Linked DNA regions of Homo sapiens: region 2 is linked to region 1. The links are contacts of gene promoters, found by promoter capture Hi-C in blood cells and fetal thymus (Javierre and others, 2016). All regions are on one chromosome and are shown on one strand. The core of a region is centred on a gene start or on the middle of the fragment in contact, and the rest is flanking DNA. Distances in the headings are between cores, read along the strand shown.

Region 1 (7,202 bases), core at 1,285-3,784:
GCTGCTCAACAGGGGTGCCAGAGCCTCAGCACACTTGGTGGCCCGGTTGGCAGCAGCCACATGCAGTGGTGTCTGCCACAGCTTGTCCCGGGCATTCACATCTGCTGAATGTGCCAGCAGCAGCCCCAGCACCTTCTGTTGAGGGGCAGGGGACAAAAGAGAGAGTGGGAGCAGGAGGTAAAACAACAGGAAATGGAAGGAGGAATAGGTCAGCATAGCATCTACAGCCCCTTCCCCAGCACAGAATCTCTTCTCATTTTTCCAACATACCTAGCCTCTGAATACCTACTTTCCATCTTCTGGATCTTCTTAGAACTTAAGCTCTTCCTTACCTTGCTGATTAAAACAAGGACCCTTTGCTCTTCTTCAAGCCACCTGACTCGCCAACTTAGACCCTGAAAATCTTCACTCACACATACATCCATTCCCAAACAAATCCACATGTGGAGATCCACACATCCCAACCCCCTACTACTTCTAGGAAAACTAAATGCTCTTGCTACATCTTGCCCTGAACACCCTCTTTAGCCTTCTCATAGGCACCAAAATTATTTTCAGTATCTCAGTAAGCAAACAGATACTGGTTCGTTTGCAAAACCCGAGCTAAAATGCCCCTCCTAACCACCACCCACCTCATTCCCACTGGCCTCGGCCCCTCCCCCTGGTGGCTGGAGCCAGGGAAGTGATGAACTGAGGAGGAGGTCCCCCTTTCCCTGTCTTCAGGGCTGATGGGAATAGGATAAAGGACCCAACTGATGAAATATGTTTGGCCCCTGTGCTGTCAACTTTCAAGCTGCTTGAGGGCCAAGGATGCAACAGATTACTATACCCATCCTCCATCACAAGGAAAAGAAATCTCAGTGCCCAGAGGGGGATCAGACTCAAGGTGGCCCCCCAGGGAGGGATGAGTCACTCAGGCCTGGCAGCAGGGCCCCCGCAGTCTGCCAGCCCAGTGTTAAGCTCTTCCTGAGTCACATCAGCTGGCAGCACTCAACCCCCTTACTGGCCAGTTCTAGGGGTAGGAGGAAGGGGCCAAGATTTGATCTCCTCACTACCTGGGGTAGAACAGCTTGTAGGGCTGAGGACTGAGGCTCCTTAACCCTTAACCCCCACCTTTAAGCAACTTATCCTTTTTGAAAGGGTAATAGAAGGTGGGGGTGCATACCTCGTTTCGGGAGGCAGCAGCACGATGAAGAGGGGTCAGCCACAGTGTGTCCTTAGCATTGACATTAGCACCTGTGGGGATATAATTTCCTATTTTGATGGAAGGTGGGGAGGAGGTATGAAGGAAGCCAGTAATCAGGCCAGGAAATCTGAATGGAGCTGGAGCCTCGCCTGGACCAAGCCGGGGAGAGCAATCCTTGAATATCAAAAAAGACTCCTCCCCTCCCTTCGCTCCCTATGTGCCACACCTTCCAGCTCCCCACTTTCACCTGACATCAGTAGCAACTGGAGGATGGGGACATCGCCTACGTAGGCAGCAGCATGCAATGGAGTTCGCCTCTCTTGGTCCTGGGAAGGCAAAAAAGAGCAGGGAGTATGGGCGCGGGGTAAGGGGGCTATCAAGGACCCCAGCCCAAGTCTCAGAGCTCCAGGCCCTTCCCCACAACCTCTTCCCATAGTTTCTGCAGCGTCCTAAGTCCCGGTATTGGGAGTCAAAGGCAAGCACCTAGGGAGGGTGGAGTCAGGGCCAATGGGCTGAGAAGCCGGCTCCTTTTTCCAGGAGGGGTGGGGGCGCTGCAGACTCCGGAGGTTGAGAAGAGAACAACGTTCCTGGGCATTCCCAGCCCAAGTGATCTGGGCTTCAAGCCTGACCTGCTCTCCATCCCCAAATGCAGAGTAGGCTTTCACTCCAGGATGGAAAGAACTGCGGCCTCATCTGAGCAGAGGAGACACGGAGCCGCCCCACCGGTGGGGAGGGGTCCAGAACACGGGAGCCAGGATTCCGGTCTCGCCATCCTCCCTGCTCCCAACTCACCAGCACATTGATGTTCTCCTTCTGCGAGAGTAGGGAACGCACTTCCTCCACATCTCGGCTAAAGATGGCCTGGACCAGGGGCGGCTGCAGAGAGAACCGGCATTCTGAGAGCGGGCTGGAGCCGGAGCGGAACCGGTGTGGGGGTGGGGGTGGGGGAGCACCTAGGTTTGAGTGGGGGGCGTCCGTGGAGGGGCTCCACTCTAGGGATTCTGGCTGGAGCGAGCTCCCGCGGTGCCTCCGCCGGTTGCCAGGTCCCCAAGGACACCGGCTCGGTTGAGGGGAGCGCGGCATGGGGCGGGGCGGGAGCTGCGGGAGCCCCGGGCTCAGGCCCAGCCTAGGCCGCACATCCCCGGGCTCGCGTGACGGCAGCGCCGAGCCCTGGAAGGAGGAAGCGGGAAAGGGCAGGAGGGCTGACCTGGTCCGTGATGCTGAGGATCCCCATGGCTCGGCCCGGGCTCCGTCCGCATCGAGCTCCCGGCGGCGGCGGCGGCGGCTCCACCGGGGACACGGAGCGGCCCAGGCGGCGGCTGCGGTGGCGGCTGCAGGGAGAGCGCGGCCCCGCCTACCGGGGGGCGGGCGAGTTGGAGGCCGCAGCGCTCCCTGGCGGCCGTCCTGGTCCCGGCGCTCCCCGCGCAAACGGACCCCGGCCGCAGCGCCCTCCGCCCCACCCTGGCGGCCCCAGCAGCCCCTGCACCCCCGAACTCGCGCGCCGGCTCCCCGGCTCACGCAGCTGGCCGCGCTGTGCTCTCCGCTCCAGTCTGGCGGCCCAAGGGGTTCCCCACAAGACCCTAGCGGAAACCTGGGCCTTAGTCCCGCGGTGCTTCCCAAACTGAGGACCGAACGGCTGGCCAGATCTTACCCAGCCCACAATGCTCCCGCCCGAGCTAACTCCTCCCGTCAGCGATTCCACACCCCGAAATCCCCCACAGACTAGGAGGAACTGGCGGGTGGAGAACTGGGAATTATGTATGGCAATAGCCCCAGAGGGAGGGAAAGCGTGTATCTCCACTGGCGGAGGCGTGAGTTCGGTAGAGAAGAAATAGCAAAAGTGCTCAAACTGCAGAGAAACCCCAAGGAGGATTCTACTGCAGAAAACACCCACAAAGAGGCCATGACAACTGGCAGCTGGAAAAGGCCGCCAAGACCAACAGAAGGGGCATTTTCCAACTCCTTACTGATTCCATTGCAAGGTTAAAGTGGAAAACACTCAACAATTTCTCCCCAGAACAGCCTGTGGCGCTTCCCCTCCTCCAATGGAGAGGCCAGAGAGCCGTCAATTAGAGAAGAAATGAATGGAGGTCATCTCAACCCAGAAACGGAAAAAGGAGGAAGACGAAAAGTGGAGATTGAAAAATTGATACAATTTATAAAAGGTGATCCAGGGTCCTGTTCAGAGTTTCACAACTCAATACACATTGAAGAGAACACGAAATGGACGAAGTGCAGCATGCTGGCGTCCTGTCAAGGCTTTATATATAAAAATCCTCCCTTGAGGGGAGAGGAAAAAAATTAAAAAATAAAAATACATTTTATTTTATTTTTTGAGATGGAGTTTCACTCTCGTCCCCCAGGCTGGAGTGCAGTGGCACGATCTCGGCTCACTGCAACCTCCGCCTCCCGGGTTCAGTGATTATCCTGTCTCAGACTACCAAGTAGCTGAGACTACAGGCGCCCGCCACCCTGCCCGGCTAATTTTTTATTTTAGTAGAGACGGGGGTTTCACCATGTTGGTCAGGCTGGTCTCGAACTCCTGACCTCAGGTGATCCACCTGCCACGGCATCCCAAAGAGCTGGGATTACCGGCGTGAGCCACCGCACCCGGCGAAAATACATTTCAAAAAAGCCTTCCCGGCCGGGCGCGGTGGCTCACGCCTGTAATCCCAGCACTTTGGGAGTCCGAGGCGGGTGGATCACGAGGTCAGGAGATCGAGACCATCCTGGCTAACACAGCGAAACCCCGTCTCTACTAAAATACAAAAATCAGCCGGGCAGGGTGGCGGGCGCCTGTAGTCCCAGCTGCTTGGGAGGCTGAGGCAGGAGAATGGCGTGAACCCGGGAGGTGGAGCTTGCAGTGAGCCGAGATTGCGCCACTGCACTCCAGCCTGGGCGACAGAGCGAGACTCCGTCTCAAAAAAAAAAAAAAAAAAAAAAAAAAAAAGCCTTCCCATTCCCAACATGGTGAAACCCCATCTCTACCAAAAATATAAAAAAGTAGCCTGGTGTGGTGGTGCACGCCTGTAATCCCAGCTACTGGAGAGGCTGAGGCAGGAGAATCACTTGAACCAAGGAGGCGGAGGTTGCAGTGAGCCGAGATGGAGCCACTGCTCTCCAGCCTGGGTGACAGAGCCAGACTCCATGTCAAAAAAAAAAAAAAAAAAAAAAAGCCTTCCCTTGCTTTCCTGCTAGAAAGATACTTAAGACACTAGTAACAGTCCTTTTTTCCCAGAAAGAAAAACTGGGGTACAGGAAATAAGGAATGAGAGAGAAATTTACCTATCACTATATACCTTTTGGAATTTTTTAAATTTTTACCATATTGAAAATAAAAGTTAAAATATTGCTTAGGAGCAATCACTCCGTGATTCCATGCACACACAAAAATTATGAAGAAATTTAAACTTACCTCTTCCAGGAAGTCTCCTCTGGCTAATAGGCTCTTTTCCTTTTGTTAGTTCTCCTTAACACTTACATACTTAGTTTATACTGCCACAATCTGGTTAAATTGTACACCTTTGTTTCTCATTTCACCTTTTTTTTTGGAGACCAGTGTCGCTCTGTCGCCGCCCAGGCTGGAGTGCTGTGGCGGGATCTCGGCTCACTGCAAGCTCCGCCTCTGGGGTTCATGCCATTCTCCTGCCTCAGCCTCCCCAGTAGCTGGGACTACAGGTGCTGCCACCATGCCCGGCTAACTTTGAGTAGAGATGGGGTTTCACCATGTTAGCCAGGAGGTTTCAATCTCCTGACCTCGTGATCCGCCCGCCTCGGCCTCCCAAAGTGCTGGGATTACAGGCGTGAGCCACCGTGCCCAGCCAGGTATAGTTTTTTTTAAGCTCCAGAATATCAGTATAGAGAAACAGGCATTTAATATTTGATGACTGATGATGATGATGAAGCAGCAGCAGAAACCAAAGGTAGCAAAGGATCAAATGGATATGGGTGTTGGGACTTGGCTATTGGGTATGATGGGCCTTCCAGGAAGGGCTAAACTAGGATATGGCCCAGAGGATAAGGAGGAGGGGCATACATGGTATCCATTGCCCAAAATAACTCTAGGTAACCTGAGGAATTGGAGTCAGGGGTTCAGCTGGGGTCACGTGCCCGGTTCTGGCTAGGGGATGGAGGTGAACAAGAGAGGTTGCCAGCCTGGTTCTCTGGGCAATTGGAGGGAGGAGGACGGGCTAGAAGAGTTATTTTTAATATTATTTAGAGCATCAAAAGAGGATTTCCCAGTAGGAAAAAAAGGGATTTGATGTAGGGAACACTGATACTTTCAGGGCTCAGGGAGACACACAGGGTATGGGAGGAGGAGGCCAGAAGTGGTGATAAAACCTTCTTATATGGACAGTCCTTCTGGATTGAACTACAAGCATTCATATTTGGGTAACTCTAGACAGATGGCTGCCTATTTTTAAGCCTCAGTTTTCCTTCTTCTGACTAAATGTGAGGACTCACCCGATGTACAGCCCTGTACTAATTGGTCGGGAGGTCAAAAATTAGAAGTAATGGTGTCTCTTTATGAGGAGCTTATAACTTAGTAGATGAACATACATATACATGTGAAACAACTACAGAATATAGGATACATGCTAGATTACATGGCATTATGTGTTCAGAGTAATGTTGAAGGAAGGGTTCAGTCAAGAGGGTCTTCCTGGAGGAGGTGTGTTTTGAGTCAGTACTTGAAGGAAGTTATTGATGTAGAATGGTGGAGACATGGGAAGAAATCGGTTGTTTCAAGTATAGGGACTAAACTAGGAAAGTTTAAATGGCAGTAATTAGTTAAACCAATTAGTAGGGGACAGTAAGCAAATTGGCTTGGTAGGCCTGTTGGACCTTGGGGATTCTGTAGCAGTCAACTTGGTTAAGGCAGAGTGATAATGAGGTCACAGTTCAGTTATGTATCCCTGTTAATTTCTGTCTTTTAACCAACCAGATCCTTACTCCTCATTCAAAGCAGCTGTCTCACATGTATAAGCCCTTAGTCAGAGGCGGGTGGGGCTGGACAAGACAGTGGAATTCGAAAGAGTAAATCTGTCCTTTAAGGTCATGTGCCCATCTGAAGGTGGCTCCAGATTACCATTTGTGAACTGGAAGGAGGCACTGTACTACAGTAGTGGAAAGGAGGACTGGGGGATGTGGACATTTTAACAGACTCTCTCTGGAGTGCAGAGGCGAAAAGAAGAGATGTTAGGAAAGAAAATAAGTGAGATCATCACCCAACTTGGGGTATCACGGAAGAGGATAAACGGAAAGGTGGCGGCCGGGCACGGTGGCTCATGCCTGTAATCCCAGCACTTTGGGAGGCCAAGCAGGTGGATCACCTGAGGTTGGGAGTTCAAGACCAGCCTGATCAACATGGAGAAACCCCGTCTCTACTAAAAATACAAAATTAGCCGGGTGTGGTGGTGCATGCCTGTAATCCCAACTACTTGGGAGGCTGAGGTAGGAGAATCGCTTGAACCTAGGAGGCTGAGGTTGCAGTGAGCCGAGATCGCGCCATTGCACTCCGGCATGGGCAACAAGAGTGAAACTCTGTCTCAAAATTAAAAAAAAAAAAAATTAAAAAAAAAAAGAAAAGTTGACAAAACACATTTATAGTCCAGGCATGGTGGCTCATGCCTGTAATCCCAGCACTTTGGAAGGCCAACGTGGACATATTGCTTGAGTTCAGGAGTTTGAGACCAACCTGGGCAAGAAGATGAAACCCTGTCTCTACCAAAAATGTGGTAGTGTGCCCCTGTGGTCGCAGCTATTTGGGAGGCTGAGGTGGGAATATCACTTGAACCTGGAAGGCAGAGGTTGCAGTGAGCCGAGATTACACCAATGCACTCCAATCTGGGTGACAGAGTGAGACCCCCGTCTCAAAAATTAAATAGATAAATAATAAAACATATTCATTTGGTCAATAATTATTTTGAATTGGTAGTACTAACTGCTATAGAGGTAGAACAGCTTATTAAAAATGGGTTTTGATGATCACCCAATGGCTCTTGCTTACTTGAAA
Region 2 (7,465 bases), core at 943-3,442, 460 kb before region 1:
CCCAGCGCCCCAAGTAGCTGGGACTACAAACACCTGCCACCATGTCTAGTTAATTTTTTAATTTTTTGTAGAAACAAGGTGTCACTTTGTTTCCCAAGCTAGTTTCCAACTCCTGGGTTCAACTGATCCTCCCGGCTTGGCATCCCAAAGTGCTGGGATTACAGGCATGAGCCACCATACCCAGCCGTTTCTTAAAAATAATAACTGTTTCAGGCTCGGCACACCTGTAATCCCACCATTTTGGGAGGCAGAGGTGAGTGGATCACTTGAGGTTAGGAGTTCAAGACCAGCCTGGCCAACACAGTGAAACCTGTCTCTACTAATAATACAAAAATTAGCTGGGTATGGTGTCACGCACCTGTGGTCCCAGCTACTCAGGAGGCTGAGGCAGGAAAATAGCTTGAACCTGGGAGGCAGAGGTTGCAGTGAACCAGATCACGTCCCTGCACTCCAGCATGGGTGACAGAGCAAGACTGTGTCTCAAAAAATAGTAATAATTTCCTCTAATTCATTACAAAAGTGATACATATTCATTGTATGGATTTTAATAACACAGACAAGCAAAAAGAAATAAATCATTCAAAATTCCACCAACCAGAGATAAGAGTATTAACAATTTAGAATACAGTCGTCCCTCCATTTCCTCAGGGGATTGGATCCAAACCCACCCCTCCAGCTGATACCAAAATCCACCACACTCAAGTCCTGCAGCAGATATAAGCTGCTCCTCCATATCTGCAGGTTTCACATCCCAAGAATACTGTATTTCTGAACCGCATTTGGTTATGGTGAACCCTCAGATACAGACAGCAAACTGTATTTATTGAAAAAAAAAAAAATCCAAGTATAAGTGGACCTGTGCAGTTCAAACCTTGCTGAAGTGTCTACTATGTATCCTTCCAAGCTTTTTTCCTATCTATACATGCACTCTTACATGACTAAAATGGGAACGTACTGTTAATATAATTTTGTAACTTTTTTCATTAATATCTCTGATAAATATCTTTCAATATTATTTCAGCACAGTAGTCTGCTATACCATGGCACACATTTAATAACTAATTCTCTGTTGTACAGTTGGTTGTTTCCAGTTATTGATCACTATAAATAATGCTGTGATAATCCCTGAGGCTAAGTCTTTATGCACATTCAAGACTATTTCCTTATACGTTCCTAGAAGTAAAACTGTTAAGGTAGAAGATATTCTTTTCCCTTTTATCACTTATAATAGCCAGTATAACACTAGATAGTATGCAATAATTTTATGCAGTTGAGACCCCAGAATAAGTAAGCAAAGTACTAGAGAAACTTCTTTGAAGATGTTCAAGAAAAGACAGACAAATGTTGGCACTTCCTATCCTCTCATAACATTCAGTATCTCTCTTAATTGCCCAGGAAGGCCTAAGTATAATTTTACCTAAAGCAGGAGATGAATGTTACAATCTCTTAAAGAGTTTCTACAGCTAGCAAATTTACCTTATTTTGGAGAAATAAAACCTGTTATACCAGAAAAGAAAGAATAAAAAGGTAACTTTCTCAGAAGTATCTCTGTACTCTTACCTTTTGTTGGAACTGAAGAAATCCCAAACCTGAAGAAGGAAAAACAAACTAAATTTTAGGAAGCTGTTCACACTCCTGGTTTGTCTGTCTCCGTGTCAAGTATACATATGACACTTCTTGCTTGTGATCTCAAGCCTTGCAATCATTAGCTAATTCTAACAACCCCATGAAAGAGGTTCAGAAATTAAGCTAAAAGGAAGCCTTATCAGAATTAGTAGTAGTCAGTTCCTGGCTTTAACTGTTACAAAAACCCTTCTCAATAAAGCTCAATTTATAGCTACTATAACCAAATCAGTAGACATGTTCTGAATAGGGTCAAAAAAGTGTTCATATCCTTCAGCAAGCCTCTATTCTACTTAAAATCAACAATTATACCTAAAAGCTAGGATCACACATCTTCATCTTTACAACACCCCTATCAGAGGCCCAAAAGGCTGGGGACACTCACCTAGCTGCCCGAGCAGCTTTCTTACTCTCCAAGCTCACAGGTACATTGAATCGTTCAGCCCTCTTCTGCATTCTCTAAGTAAAAATAGACAAAAGGGAGAAAAAAAAGTCAATTTATGGTTTAAGAAAGTCAGTCAGAGGTAGGTATCTTTAAAAAAAAAAAAAAAAAAAAAAAAAAGAGTCTCACTCTGTCCCCCAGCCTGGAGTGCAGTGGCATGATCTCGGCTCACTGCAACCTCAGCCTCCTGGGTTCGAGCGATTCTCGTGGCTCAGCCTCCTGAGTAGCTGGGATTACAGGACTGTGCCACTGTGCCCAGCTAATTTTTGTGCTTTTAGTAGAAATGAGATTTCACCATGATGGCCAGGCTGATATTGAACTCCTGGCCTCAAGTGAACTGCCCACCTCAGCCTCCTAAACTGCTGGGATTACAAGCGTGAGCCACCTGGCCCAGCCAAAGGTAGGTATCTTAAAAACATCAGAAGTAATTTCTTAGGGTCTAAACTGAAAATACTGACAATCCTAGAAGATATCAGGTTGTGTCCATGCTAGGACTTAACGGCCCTTCCCACAAAGCAAACAAAAAAAGACTATTACTAGATGCCCTCAAAAACAAAAGGGAGAAATAAAGTAAAACCTACATTATGCATGAAGCCAAGAAGTCAAAAGCTATGTTTGGCTGACCTTTGAAAAGTGATCAAAGGAATAGCTTGGTTCCAACACCAATGGTATTCTTTCAGTTAGAAATGAGGCAGCATTGTTTTATGCCATTCTAAAAGAGTTTAATAATTCTCTACTTTGCAAGTATGATACTGAACACAAGATCTCAAATGGAACCTGGTTTCACAGTCCTGCACCACAGAAACCAGAGAAATTTCAATCTCAGCTACTGGCCAGTAGCAACATAAGAGTCACATCTACCAATACATTTTCAAGGTACAATCCTCCTAAATCTAATCCTAGGTTTGAAAACATCTCAAAGAGAGTCACTGTTAAGACCATAATATTACATATAAAAAGACTACAACTTCAAGAATGACTACCCCTACGCCAGCCAAATATTTTCCAAAGAGTAGCTGGCAGTGAAACGTATCAACACCAAAATCTGCCAATACTGATTTTCTGCCTGTGAATAAATTTTAGAGGATGATGCAGATATAATAAAGGGTAAGAGGGAGAGAGAAATGTAGAGACTGTTCTACTAGGGAGCAGAATACCTACCTCAGTCTGTGGTATTTCAGATGTAATTTTCACCACTTTCTTCTCTGCTGCCCTAGAAAAGAAAGAGATTTTTTAAAATGAGAAAACTGATATTCTAAACCACAACCTCAGAAATGTGTAAGAATTCACCTGAGTCACCATTCTCTGCCCTATTATCTCTCTGCCACCCCCTAAGCCAAAGAAACATGAAGTCCACTAGAGCTTTGGTTCCTTTAACTGTCATCTATTGAGAGGAAAGAGTTCAAATAACAAACTAAGCTTCTTTAGCTAAAGTATAATAAAGAAATAAGGAAAGAAGTCTGGTTAAATATACTGGGCTGAAGGGAAACACTCAAAGGACACCAGAAACCATCTCATTTGCTTTTAGGAACTTTTCAATTTACTTTTATTTTTCTGAGACGGAGTTTTGCTCTTGTCGCCCAGGCTGGAGTGCAATGGCACGATCTCAGCTCACTGCAACCTCCACCTCCTGGGTTCAAGAGATTCTCCTGCCTCAACCTCCTGAGTAGCTGGAATTACAGGCACCTGCCACCACGCCGAGCTAATTTTTGTATTTTTAGTAGAGATAGGGTTTCACCATGTTGGCCAGGCTAGTCACGAACTCCTGGCCTCAAGTGATCCACCCACCTCGGCCTCCCAAAGTACTGGGATTACAGGCATCAGCCACCGAGCCCAGCCTTTAATTTACTTTTGAACTAATGAGTAACCCTCCAATCCTCCTTTAAGTACCACCTCCCAATGTTCATCACAACAATTAATAAGTACTCTACAAGGTCTGGTTTCCTTCTTTTAAAAATCCCTTATTTCTCCCATGGGGAATGTAGCTCTAGCTGGAACAGTCAAAGTGAAACAAATAAAAATGCCAAAGAAGGTAGGAAGAAAAAAGTCTAAGGGGAGTTTGAATTAGGAAAACATGGTAAGCTAGTGGTCAAAGGTTTAAGAGGAAACAAAAGAGGGGGGACCACAGGGGCGGGAGACAAAGTTCGGAAGTACCCACGATAAATGGAAGGGCATTAACCCTCCACCAAACAACTCCCATAAAACTGTGGGTCATAACCAGTCTCATTAAGGTCCCTCATTTAGAGACATGGGCAGCTTTTGTTCCAATATCCTGAACACTTTTCCCATTTGATGCCCTGAAAGGTAGTAATGGTTTAATGACATTTTCAGAGGAAGCAATTCTGGAATAAGAACTTACTCTCTTCCACCCTTTTATTGGAAATCCCTGGACTGAAGACAAGCAATGGGTGCCCCCTGCTGACTATAACGAAGTCCTACGATATGTAACCGCTTTAGCTGGTTGGGGGTTGGGAATCAAACTAGAAACAGGTATATTTTTGGAGAACTTCAGGCCAAACATGAAGAAGGGGATCTCCTTTTAAATAGTCAAGGAATCTAAACTAGCCCTGGCTATTCTGACGTTTAAAGAAATTTCTAAACGCTTCCCATTTCCTTGCCATCCTTCCCTAACCTTGTCTTATAATTTAGGCACAAAAGGCTAAAGTTTAATGTTTTACTTGAAATCCAATGCCATCAAGAAAGTAGTACTCTCCATCAACCCCAGTGTAATGACTTCCTCCCCATTACCATTCTGAAGCACAGTCAATGCAGTGCACATCATGGCAGAAAGGGAACCCCAGACGGGAAGTTTCCTTCCATTCTATTACAATTCCCTTAGGCAACTAAACTCAAGCGCAATAAATAAACATCGAATTCTGGGATGCATGGGAAATTTCCACTCTTCACTGAGAAATTTCTCTCCTACCCAATCACATAAACAACATTCCCTGAAATACAGAGACCCAGAATCTTTTTGTACATACTTCAGTCTAACCACAACTATCCTCTAAAAATCAAAAACGATCACCCCACCCACTTCAATTTCCTTGTTTCAAAATTCATTAATAGAATTAAAGCCCCCTGAACAGAATGCACATTTTAAATATTCTATGAATAATGAACTTCAAACTTTCGAACCTCTATTTTTTAACCCACAGAAGCCAATTATCATGGTATTCACTTGATCTTCTTTCTTGTTCCAGAAATCCCCATAACATTTCTATTTTAAAGCTATCTCACAAAGTCATTTTTTCAAGGCACTATATCTAATTATAAACATCTTATGATGGAAAGATAACTAAATGGCTTTAGAAAGTAGTATTTGATAGGCTGGAAAGTAGTATTTGATAGGCAGGTGATTACTGGCTCACACCTGTAATCCCAGCACTTTGGGAGGCCAAGGCAGGTGGATCGCTTTGAGCTCAAGAGTTTGAGACCAGCCTGGCAAACACGGCGAAACCCCATCTCTACAAAAAATACAAAAAAAGAGCTGGGTGTAGTGGCTCGTGCCTGTAGTTCCAGCTACTCAGGAGGCTGAAGCTGGAGGACTGCTTGAGCCGGGAAACGGAGGTTGCAGTGAGCCAAGATTGTGCCACTGCACTCCAGCCTGGACAACGGAGTGAGTCCCTGTCTCAAAAATAAATAAATAAAGGGATATTTGACAAAAATCTATCAAGATGTTAAATGTACATCCTCTGTGATGCAGCAAATCCACTGCTAGGAATTTACCCTGTGGGTATACTTGTGAGTATAAATAATTAGAAAAGGACATGCAGAACTACATTTTTTTTTAATGAATAATCTAAATGTCCATCAACAGAAGACTGGTGAAATAAATTACTGTTTATCCATAGAATGCAATACTATTAAATGCTAGAAAGAACAAGGTTCTAAGTTGATAACTAGTAAATCTGGGTGATAGGTAGATGAGAGTCTATTACACTAGTCGAACTTTTGTATATACTTGTAATTTCCCATAATAAGCTAAACAAAAAGAGACCACTTCCTAGGATAATTATCCTGACTTTACAGGGTCTACTGAGGATAAAATGACAGTACATGTAAAACATTCAGAACAATGCCTAGCATATAACTCTTAAGAACAATGCCTAGCATATAACTAACACTTACATAAGAAAATGATGATATAAAAAATTTCCAGATGTGAAAAAAAATCAAGTGTGCACAGTGTGTGTATACGTGTATCTATATATACACATACATACATATACACATGTACAGACCCCATATATAAAATCTTCCAAAAGTATGTACTGTTCTAAAAACCTCAGTAAAGTCAGATCTGAGAATGGATACAAAGAGTACTTAATTCTTAATTGATATACTCCACTATGTACTGACTTTTTACTTGTAAATACACTGCCTTTTATAATTAAATGCACTAACACAACTATGAGGAACAAAAATGTTCAAAGTTTAGGACTCAACGGCTCTTAATGTACTATAGTACAAAATGGCCAGACATTTGTGGAAAAAGCCCCAAATTAAAGATGTTTAGGATCACCCTTGTGGAACAGTTTAAACAAATCAAGATCTACTTTCCATTCTAGCACTTTGTCCTCCCATCCTCCACTGTAAATCAGAAAGCAAGAGAGAACAGAGTGCTACTTCAGAAACATAACCTCTACCCAACACCCTCCTCCCTTACAAAACTCCTTTATATAGAGTGTCACACTTTTTTTTTTTTTTTTCCCGAGACAGCTGTGGCTCCCAGGCTGGAGTGCAGTGCCACAGTCTCGGCTCACTGCAACCTCCACCTCCCAGGTTCAAGCAATTCTCCTGCCTCAGCCTCCCAAGTAGCTGGAATTACAGGTGCCCTCCACCACGCCCAACTAATTTTTGTATTTTTAGAAGAGACAGGGTTTCACCATCTTGGCCAGGCTGGTCTTGAACTCCTGACCTCGTAATCCACCCACCTCGGCCTCCCAAAGTGCTGGGATTACAAGTGTGTGCCACCGTGCCTGGCCTCAGTTTTACACTTTTCCAGAAAAGTGCAAAACTCTTATGAACAGTTAACAGAATGGGCCGGGCACGGTGGCTCACACCTGTAATCCCAGCACTTTGGGACGCCAAGGCAGACGGATCATTTGAGGTCAGGAGTTCAAAACCAGCCTGGCCAACATGGTAAAACCCTGTCTCTACTAAAAATACAAAAATCAGTCGGGCAGTAGTGGCACACACCTATAATCCCAGCTACTCGGGAGGCTGAGGCAGGAGAATTGCTTGAGCCTGGGAAGCAGAAGTTACGGTGAGCCAAGATCACGCCACTGCACTCCAGTCTGGGCAACAGAGTGAGATCCTGTCTCAAAAAAAAAAAAGTTAACAGAGTTTACACAGTTTTACACTGCATACAGAATTGTACAGATTCTCTATAGAGTA

The links. The method cuts DNA at HindIII sites, captures the fragments that hold promoters and counts their contacts. A CHiCAGO score of 5 or more calls a contact.
Region 2: a contact is called between a fragment that was not itself captured here and the fragment with the promoter of ANKRD52 in region 1, in 1 of 17 cell types (total CD8 T cells). The highest score is 5.8, in total CD8 T cells.

What each region holds. Positions count from the first base shown.
Region 1 is chr12:56,255,850-56,263,051 of GRCh38, forward strand. ANKRD52 (ankyrin repeat domain 52) reads right to left here and starts at 2,535. Exons shown (of 28, transcript NM_173595.4): 1 at 2,394-2,535; 2 at 1,979-2,062; 3 at 1,434-1,512; 4 at 1,166-1,236; 5 at 1-135. The coding sequence starts at 2,420. RefSeq lists enhancers at 545-1,537, 1,844-1,893, 1,974-2,023, 6,547-6,716 and silencers at 2,084-2,153, 2,174-2,723, 2,734-2,793. The HindIII fragment of the contact is 14,479 bases long and covers 1-7,202 here.
Region 2 is chr12:55,792,799-55,800,263 of GRCh38, forward strand. It overlaps SARNP (SAP domain containing ribonucleoprotein), which reads right to left. Exons shown (of 11, transcript NM_033082.4): 5 at 3,227-3,278; 6 at 2,009-2,082; 7 at 1,561-1,589. Among named protein-coding and RNA genes, the nearest start is that of SARNP, 21 kb to the right of the region's middle. RefSeq lists an enhancer at 5,421-5,922. The HindIII fragment of the contact is 2,580 bases long and covers 903-3,482 here.